Regions from separate parts of the Homo sapiens genome. Here region 1 is linked to region 2. The links are contacts of gene promoters, found by promoter capture Hi-C in blood cells and fetal thymus (Javierre and others, 2016). All regions are on one chromosome and are shown on one strand. Each heading gives the region's core, a stretch centred on a gene start or on the middle of the fragment in contact. The rest is flanking DNA. Distances are from core to core; before and after follow the strand shown.

Region 1 (4,712 bases), core at 1,083-3,582, 210 kb before region 2:
TAAATTGTTAAAACTTCATTTTAAATCTAAATTTTAAATTTTAAAACTTCATTCTGGCCAGGCACGGTGGCTCATGCCTGTAATTCCAACACTTTGGGAGGCTGAGACGGGTGAATTGCTCAAGCCCAGGACTTCAAGACCACCCTGGGCAACATAGGGAGACGCTGTCTCTACAAAAAATTTTAAAAATTAAGGCTGGGCGCAGTGGCTGTATTAAGGGAGGCCGAGGCGGGCGGATCACAAGGTCAGGAGATCGAGACCACGGCGAAACCCCGTCTCTACTAAAAATACAAAAAATTAGCTGGGCGCAGTGGCGGGTGCCTGTAGTCCCAGCTACTCGGGAGGCTGAGGCAGGAGAATGGCGTAAACCCAGGAGGCGGAGCTTGCAGTGAGCCAAGATCGCGCCACTGCACTCCAGCCTGGGCGACAGAGTGAGACTCCATCTCAAAAAAAAAAAAAAAATTAGCTTGGTGTGGTGACGTGTACCTGTGGTCCCAGCTACTCAGGAGGCTGAGGTAAGAGGATCATCTGAGCCCAGGAGGTGGAGGCCACAATAAGCAGTTGTTGGGCCACTGTGCTACAGACTCAGCCACAGAGCAAGACCTTATCTCCAAAAATAAAATAATAAAATTAAATTGGCCAGATGCAGTGGCTCACACCTGTAATCCTTCGGGAGGCCAAGGTGGGCAGATCACTTGAGGTCAGGAGTTGGAGATCAGCCTGGCCAACATGGGAAAATCCCTTGTCTACTAAGAACACAAAAATTAGCCGGGCGTGGTGGCACACACTTGTAATCCCAGTTACTTGGGAGGCTAATGCAGGAGAAACACTTGAACCTGGGAGGTGGAGCTTGCAGTGGGCCAAGATCACGCCACTGCACTCCAGCCTGGGTGACAGCAAGATTGTCTCAAAAAAAAAAAAAAAAAAGAAAGAAAGAAAAGAAAAAGAAGAAAAGAAATACAGGGGACAGAAATTATTTGGAAGTACCTTTACTATTATCTTGTTTATTTGGCATTAATTTTAAAAGTCCAAGAAGCTTTCATGACTCTTTTTCTTAATGATGCAATGATAGTGGGAATGCAGGGAAATGAGCACTCTCATTCCCTGGTAGAGGGAACACAATTTACAGGGCACATTGGAAAATAGGAAACTTGTGCCTGGTATATGACAATCCTGTAAAGAAGGTCTCTACAAAACTATGTGATAAAGATACAATAAATAAGGCTGAGTGCAGGGGCTCACGCCAGTAATATCGGCATTTTGGGAGGCCAAGGTGGGAGGATCACTTGAACCTAGGAGTTCAAGACAAGCCTAGGTAACATAGCAAGACCCCGTGTCTATTAAAAAAAAGTTTTTTTATTATAAAAATCCAATAAATAGGTATTCTAAACTCTTCTGTGCACAGTAGCCACCTTTTAATATTTTCCCTAAAATCTTTACAATGGAAAAACATACAACAGACTGAGGAGAATCACTCATACTCTCACCACCCGTGATGAAATTCTTGAAAATGTCAGGCCACGTGTGGTGGCTCATACCTGTAATTCCAGCACTTTGGGAGGCTGAGGCGGTGGATCACGAGGTCAAGAGTTCGAGACCAGCCTGAACAACATGGTGAAACTCCATCTCTACTAAAAATACAAAAAATTAGCCGGGCATGGTGGCACGCGCCTGTAATCCCAGCTACTCAAGAGGCTGAAGCAGGAGAATCGCTTGAACCCGGGAGGCAGAGGGTGCAGTGGGCCGAGATCACACTACTGCATTCCAGCCTAGGTGACACAGCAAGACTCCATCTCAAAAAAAAAAAAAACAAAATTCTTGAAAATGTCATTGATTAGTCAGGAAAAAAAATTGTTACTAAGAGGCACTATGCTAGGTGGTAGAGATTTAAAACAAACATTTTTTGAAAATGCCCCATCTTCAAAGAGATCATACACATGACAGTGGGTGGAGTACAATGTCTTTTTGGAAAGGACTATGATAAGGACTATAAAGGGCACTGAAATGGTATCTAACAAACTGGGAAGGGGGCACAGGCCAGGGAAAAAGTTGGCTCCTGAGCTAAAGAAATGGGGGTGGGGAGGAGAAGAATAACAGCCAGAATAACAGGAACGGCATTTACAAAGGCAGAAAGATGGAGCAAAGCAGGTTGAGAGAAATGCAAATAAAATCACTGAACACTGTGGGGGAGGGATGTTAGAGCAGGAAGGCACGGATGAGGCTGGAGTGGTAAGCAAACATCTCAGGGAGGCCTTCTATGCCTTGGAGTTTTGCAGACCACTTCCAGCCCATTCCAATATCTACCTGAAATGCCCAAGTGAACTACAGGAAGCGAGTGCACCGAAGGATTCCTACCACTTCCCCTCCATGTTAAAAACCAAGATGCTAAAGTGGAACAGCAGTGGCAGCAATGCCAAGAACAAGCAGGGGAGGCCCCCGCATCCACACAATAAAAACAGCATCTGACTAAAAACCGGAAGCTCAATTCGGCAAAATTCTTGCTGTTTTGAATAGGTGAATGCACTACACATATTTATAACTGTGGTATTGACGGCAATTTTTTTTTTTTTGAGACAGATTCTCACTCTGTTGCCCAGGCTGGGGTACAGTGGCATGATCTCAGCTCACTGCAACCTCCGCCTCCCAGGTTCAAGCGATTCTCCTGCCTCAGCCTCCCAAGTAGCTGGGATTACAGGCGAGTGCCACCATGCCTGGCTAATTATTGTATTTTTAGTAGAGACGGGGGTTTCATCATGTTGGCCAGGCTGGTCTCGAACTCCTGATCTCAGATGATCTGCCCACCTTAGCCTCCCAAAGTGCTGGGATTACAGGCATGAGCCACTGCGCCTGGCTGACAGCAATTTTTTTCTTTATATTCCTAATTTTTGATGAACACAGACTGCAATTATTTCACACATACACCCAAGAAAGTTTGTATACTCAATGCAATATCTTGCAGTGCAAGGGTCTTTAACCATCATTAGCCAGTGGACTTGGAACTGAGAGTTTAAAACAACCATTAAGGAGCACATCTATGTAACACGCTGGTCTCCAGTGCTAAGATTCTTGAGGACAGAGACCGCATCTTATTTCTTTTTTTTTTTTTCTTTTTTGAGACGGAGTCTTGCTCTGTTGCCCAGGCCGGAGTGCAGTGTCACAATCTCGGCTCACTGTAAGCTCCACCTCCTGAGTTTGCGCCATTCTCCTGCCTCAGCCTCCCAAGTAGATGGGACTACAGGCGCCCACCACCACGCCCGGCTAATTTTTTTGTATTTTTAGTAGAGACGGGGTTTCACCGTGTTAGCCAGGATGGTCTCGATCTCCTGACCTCATGATCCACCTCCCAAAATGCTGGGATTACAGGCGTGAGCCACTGCGCCCGGCACATCTTGTTTATTTCTAAACCCCTTCCTTTCTCCTCCCACCACCAGCAAGCACCTAACACTTCGCTTTTACACACAGGAGGTGTTCAATAAATGTTCATTTTATTATGCAATAATGCCATACATTTGTAAGACAGCTAAACAAAAAACTGGAATGCACAAACAGTTTATACACTGGGCTTGGGAATTTCATGAGTGGAGATAATGACAGTGTTTATACAGGACTCTGGTTTATGAAAAGCTTTCATATACATTCTGTCATTCAAGTCTCACATTAACCCAATGGAAGAAGCATTCGTTACCCTCCAGTAGGCAGAGGAAATAGAAACTAAGAAATTAAGTCATCTGCCCAAGGTCACATAGCTAGTGACAGACCAAAGACTCTGAATCTCGGATTTCCTCACTCATAGGCCACTGTTCTCTCCCATGACAATCTTCAGTTAATTAAAAAAAAAAAAAAAATGGCTGTAATCCCAGCACTTGGGAGGCCAAGGTGGACGGACTGCTTGAGCCCAGGAGTTCAAGACCACCTGGACAACATGGCAAAACCCTGTCTCTACAAAAGATACAAAAATTATCCAGGCATGGTGGCACACACCTAAAGTCCCGGCTACTCAGGAAGCTGAGGTGGAAGAATCACGAGCCCAGGAGGTTGAGGTTGCAGTGAGCTGAGAAGATACCACTGCATTCCAGCTTCGGTGACAGAGTGAGATCCTGTCACTCACACAAATAAGAAAATTATTGAAAACATATTTGCTAAGCAATGTCCTAATGTGCTGGGAAATAAAATGATGAACAAACCCTCAGTCCAGGAGGAGAAAACTTAGAATCCAGAAGGAGAAAAAAACACATTAAACAAGAAAATAATTGCAAGTGTGAAAGGACAGTACGGGGATCTACATTGAGGCTCCCTTATTGGGAATCTCTCAAAGACAGAACTGGTGTTATATTGAATCCAAGGATTTTTCTTATTCACCTTATCTCAAACCATTTAAATTAAATATACAGGCATCCACTTTGGAAGGTGCTTTCAAATCACCTAGGGATCTTATTAAAATGCATTATAATCCAATGATTAGGACCCGAAATCCTGCATTTCAAACATACTCCTAGGTGGTGCCAAAGATCCACACTTTGAGAGTCTACAGCAAACTTCTCAAGGATTATGGTTATGTAGAGACACTGATCCTCTCAATCCTGAGAGTACTTTCTGTCACCAGAGGACCAAGAGCAGTTTTTCTTCTGCTACATAAAATGACAGTGGTATTTTTCTTCCTTAATGTTAAGTGATATCAAAAAAGGCAAAGACATCACTAACAAGTATAGTTA
Region 2 (4,455 bases), core at 28-2,527:
TGTCATAACTTGCTTAAAATTGTATCCTCATATAATGGTGAGGATACCATTACCAAATACCCTGGTGTTTCTACTGTATTCATCATGTACAATCCTATAATTATAGTCATGTTGTCTTAACTTAGTGTTATAAATCACTACAATTTCTATAACATTTTCATATATGAACAAAATTAATAGCTTTCTCATTATTGAATAGAATCAGATGTGATAAGTGACCTCAAATGTTTTATTTAGAGGCTTAAAGACAAAGAACTCTAAACGAGTATCCAGCATCTTTTGAAAGGATACCTAAAGGGGCAAGAAAAAAAATTATCTTTCCCCCATGAGCAAGAGAAGGGGAGCTGGGTGGTAAGTAAGGATGCAAGGTTTTCAGGACTGTTAACAGTTGAGAGTGTAGGTTCTTTCTACCTCTCCCTGATCCTCCCAGCCCTCCCCCATAACAATGAGGATGCTGGTGAAATACTAGCGGACAGGATCTGACCATACCTTCATGGGTAGGCTCTGGGTCAGGTGTAAGTGAGATGTCATCCAGCTCTCGCAGGCAGAGCCATTCTCCATCCATGGACACTCGGAATTTGCAAAGGTAGATGGTCTCCATGGCAGCCTGTGTGATCTTGTCAGTGGTGGGGGTTGGCATATCGGTCGGAGGCGTCAGAGCAGACATGATGACTCAGCTGGGACCACAACACACACACAGACACACACACACTCACACACACACACCAAAAAAATAAATACAACCTCCTCACCAAAAAAACCCAATACAAAGCTCTGAAACAAAGCTTTCAGGAAAAGGGTGGGGGAGGTTTAAAAAAAAAAAAAAGGAAAAATACCTTATAGGTTAAGAACAAACTGCTCAAGATAAACAATTCTACACTATCTTATAGACAGTTCCTACCACATAGCAAAATAAGATGATGCTTGTCTTCTCCCAGCTTCCTCTCCTTTTATCTTCCCTTCCCTGCCCCCCACCTTTTTTTTCAGCTGAGCTATAGGCTTTAAATCCCGCACAGCTGATGCTGCCTTAGCTGGCTTTAAAAATCTGGCCTCGATATGAGTAAGTGAAAAATCCTCCTCCTTTGTGCAGAAAAAAAATATAAAAGAAAAACCTGAACAAAAAATAAACCTATATTTTCAATGTAGCTTAAAAAAAAAATCCTGAGCTGCAGAAATCACTTCCAGGATCTGCTCAGATGAGCTGGGATGCTGAGTTCTCATAGGATTGGCCGTGCGCAGTAAGCAGGGTGTTGACCAAAATGGCTGACTAATGAACTGAACTGAAAATTCAGGCTCATGTGACCAGCTGCTCTGAACGTAGGGCAAGCAATTCCCAGGATGCTTTATAGATGCTGCTGATGCTGGGAGAGCAATTAGGCTTCTCTCTCTCATCCTGTACAACCCACTTCCAGACTGTGCTAGTCAAACTGTGATCAGACATAACACAATGCACATATCCTCATCAATTCTTCTTACTTTGGGATCAAGGACTGAATAAAAGGATGACAATTAATACCGGATAATAATCTATAGTAAAGATGGTAAAAGAGGCAGTTAGATTAATTTAACAAGCATATAATTCACCTCTTTCATTCTTATCTACATAGCTATTAAAATTCTTTACTATGCTAAATGTTATGTTTTAAGAAAAGCTAAAGCATAAAAAATTGAGGTTCTCAGAGGGAAAAAAAACAAAAAGATAAAAAGAAAAGCTAAAGTAGATTTTCAATTTAAATATCTTATTCTTGGGCATTTATAATTTCCTTCTCCAAGGTACAAAAACCTGACCTTTTAGGTTAGGCAGAAATGCAAAAAAAAAACTTCAAGTTAAAAAAGTAAAATCTTTCCCAATTAATGGCAATTTCCCCCCTTTTTGATTTTGTTGTATTTATCAAGTTTCTGTATTAAGCATAAAATACGTTTCTTTTTTTTTCTTTTTTCTTTTTTGAGACAGAGTCTTGCTCTGTAGCCCAGGCTGGAGTGCAGTGGCGTGATCTCAGCTCCCAGGTCCAAGCAATTCTCTGCCTCAGCCTCCCGAGTAGCTGGGATTACAGGCACCCACCACCACGCCCAGCTAATTTTTGTATTTTTAGTAGAGACGGGGTTTCACCATCTTGGCCAGGCTGGTCTTGAACTTCTGACCTCATGATCCTCCCACCTCAGCCTCCCAAAGTGCTGGGATTACAGGCGTGAGCCACCATGCCCAGCCTTAAGCATGAAATATGTTTCTAAGCAGATTAAACCATGTTATATTTTTAAAATCCTCCCATTCGATAAGATACTGAAGACAATTATATTTTCTTAATACACACACACACACACACACACACACACACACACACACACACACACGGCCCTATATTATCCAATGAGGCATTTATACCTTGGTAGCAAAAGGGCAGGTACTTGCTTTATGAACTACATAAATTACAAAGAGAAGAATAAGAATTTTCTTTGAAAATGTTTTGGACAATTGAAAGAAAGTGTTTGTTTGTTTTTGTATTGAAGGGTTCCAATTTTAAGGAGGAACATACAAATTCAAGAAATATGACCTGAGACTATTCCTTTCTAGGGATTGTTATCAGAGGGACATCTTGATTTACCTAATTTCTGAAAACTAAAAAAATTCTCCTTGAATATTGTTAAAATCTCAAATGCTTCATCATAATTTGAGACTGAACTGAAAGAAAAAAATGCTAATAATCAAATTCTGTAGAGAAACTGGCATTTTCATATTGTTACGAAGACAGGGCGGATGGCTGGGCGCGGTGGCTCATGCCTATAATACCAGCACTTTGGGAGGCCAAGGCGGGCAAATCACCTGAGGTCAGGAGTTCGAGACCAGCCTGGCCAACATGGTGAAACCTCATCTCTACTAAAAATACAAAAATTAGTCAGATGTGGTGGCATGTGCCTGTAATCCCAGCACTTTGGGAGGCTGAGGCAGGTGAATGGCTTGAGCTCAGGAGTTTGAAACCAGCCTGGGCAACATGGCAAAACTCCATCTCTACAAAAACAAAAATTAGCAAGGTATGGTTGCGCGCACATGTGGTCCTAGCTACTTGGGAGACTGAGGTGGAAGAATCACGTGAGGCCAGGAGGCAGAGGCTGCAGTGAGCCGAGATCATACCACTGCACTCTACCCTGTCTCAAAATAAAAAAAAGAAGGAGGGTATACTGGTACAATGTAAGAAGGCATATATATAGGCTTATTTATAATTGGGGAAAATCAGTAAGTTACTAAGGAAAGCAAAATACTCCTGGTTTTATTTCTATCTCATTCTCTCTCATCATTACCCTACATCTAGACTCAGAGCCATTCATTCATTCATTCATTCAACAGATATTCACTAAGAGGTGCTCCACATGCCAGGTAGTGATCCAGGCACTAGGCACGCAGCAGTAAGACAGAAACACCTTTTCCAGGAAACAGAATTTTCATATCCAAATACTGAACACAAGCCTTCATTTAACACATTCTCATTTAATTCAGTTCAATTCCTTTCTAGCCAAAAATATTCCCATATTATATATTAATAAGGGGACAGTTTATAGATTCACTTTATATCATGCAATACTTCAAAACATAGTAAGTAGTCATTAAAACCTTCAAATTACATGGGACATTCCTGGAACCACAACTCCAAACAGCCCTAGCTATCTGTATGTGTGATATCAAAACTCTAGATCACTGATATGTTCTTAAAACAGAACAAGGAATACATGAATAAATCCGAATGCCATGTGATTGTCTGGGGTCCAAAACCTGAATTTGGCCTTGTCACAAACCACAACAATCTCTTCACCCCAGTAAGCATTTACTAACTTGAACAGATCTAGATTGATTGCAACATACCAACACAACAGGAACATCAAGGTTAGTGAGCAAGAAACTTGATTAACATTCCTTCGGAAGATCCATCCCACCCTGCCTCTCTCCAGGTAGAGGACACAGAGAGGCAAGCCCAAAACAACTAAAGTTTTTGGCAAGGAAAGAAAAACATGCCTGTATTGGTATCCTTGAATTTCCCAGATCTACCAGTTTGAGGTGTTGGCAGCCATTTCAGAAATAAGACCCGGGGGTGGGCAAGAAAAACTGTACTTCTACGCTGTTCTTTAGGTAAACACCATTGAGTCTTCAGCACGAACAGTTATCCATTGTTCACAGGCAAAGAAGTTACTATGAAAACAGTGCTATTTGTAGAAACTTATAAAAACAATTCTACGGCCGGGCACGGTGGCTCATGCCTGTCATCCCAGTACTGTGGGAGGCTGAGGCAGGCGGGTCACCTGAAGTCGGGAGTTCAAGACCAGCCTGACCAACATGGAGAAACGCCATCTTTACTAAAAATACAAAATTAGCTGGGCGTGGTGGCACATGCCTGTAATCTGCTACTCTGGAGGCTGAGGCAGGAGAATCGCTTGAACCTGGGAGGCGGGGGTTGCAGTGAGGTG

Evidence for each region. Contacts are between HindIII fragments. The CHiCAGO score rates a contact against its expected background, and 5 or more counts as called.
Region 1: a contact is called between a fragment that was not itself captured here and the fragment with the promoter of RUFY3 in region 2, in 1 of 17 cell types (M0 macrophages). The highest score is 5.5, in M0 macrophages.

What each region holds. Positions count from the first base shown.
Region 1 is chr4:70,925,398-70,930,109 of GRCh38, reverse strand. The region is part of intron 1 of MOB1B (MOB kinase activator 1B); the gene reads right to left. Among named protein-coding and RNA genes, the nearest start is that of MOB1B, 25 kb to the right of the region's middle. The HindIII fragment of the contact is 2,588 bases long and covers 1,039-3,626 here.
Region 2 is chr4:70,718,786-70,723,240 of GRCh38, reverse strand. It overlaps RUFY3 (RUN and FYVE domain containing 3), which reads right to left and starts at 1,277. Exons shown (of 18, transcript NM_001037442.4): 1 at 490-1,277. The coding sequence starts at 667. The HindIII fragment of the contact is 24,519 bases long and covers 788-4,455 here.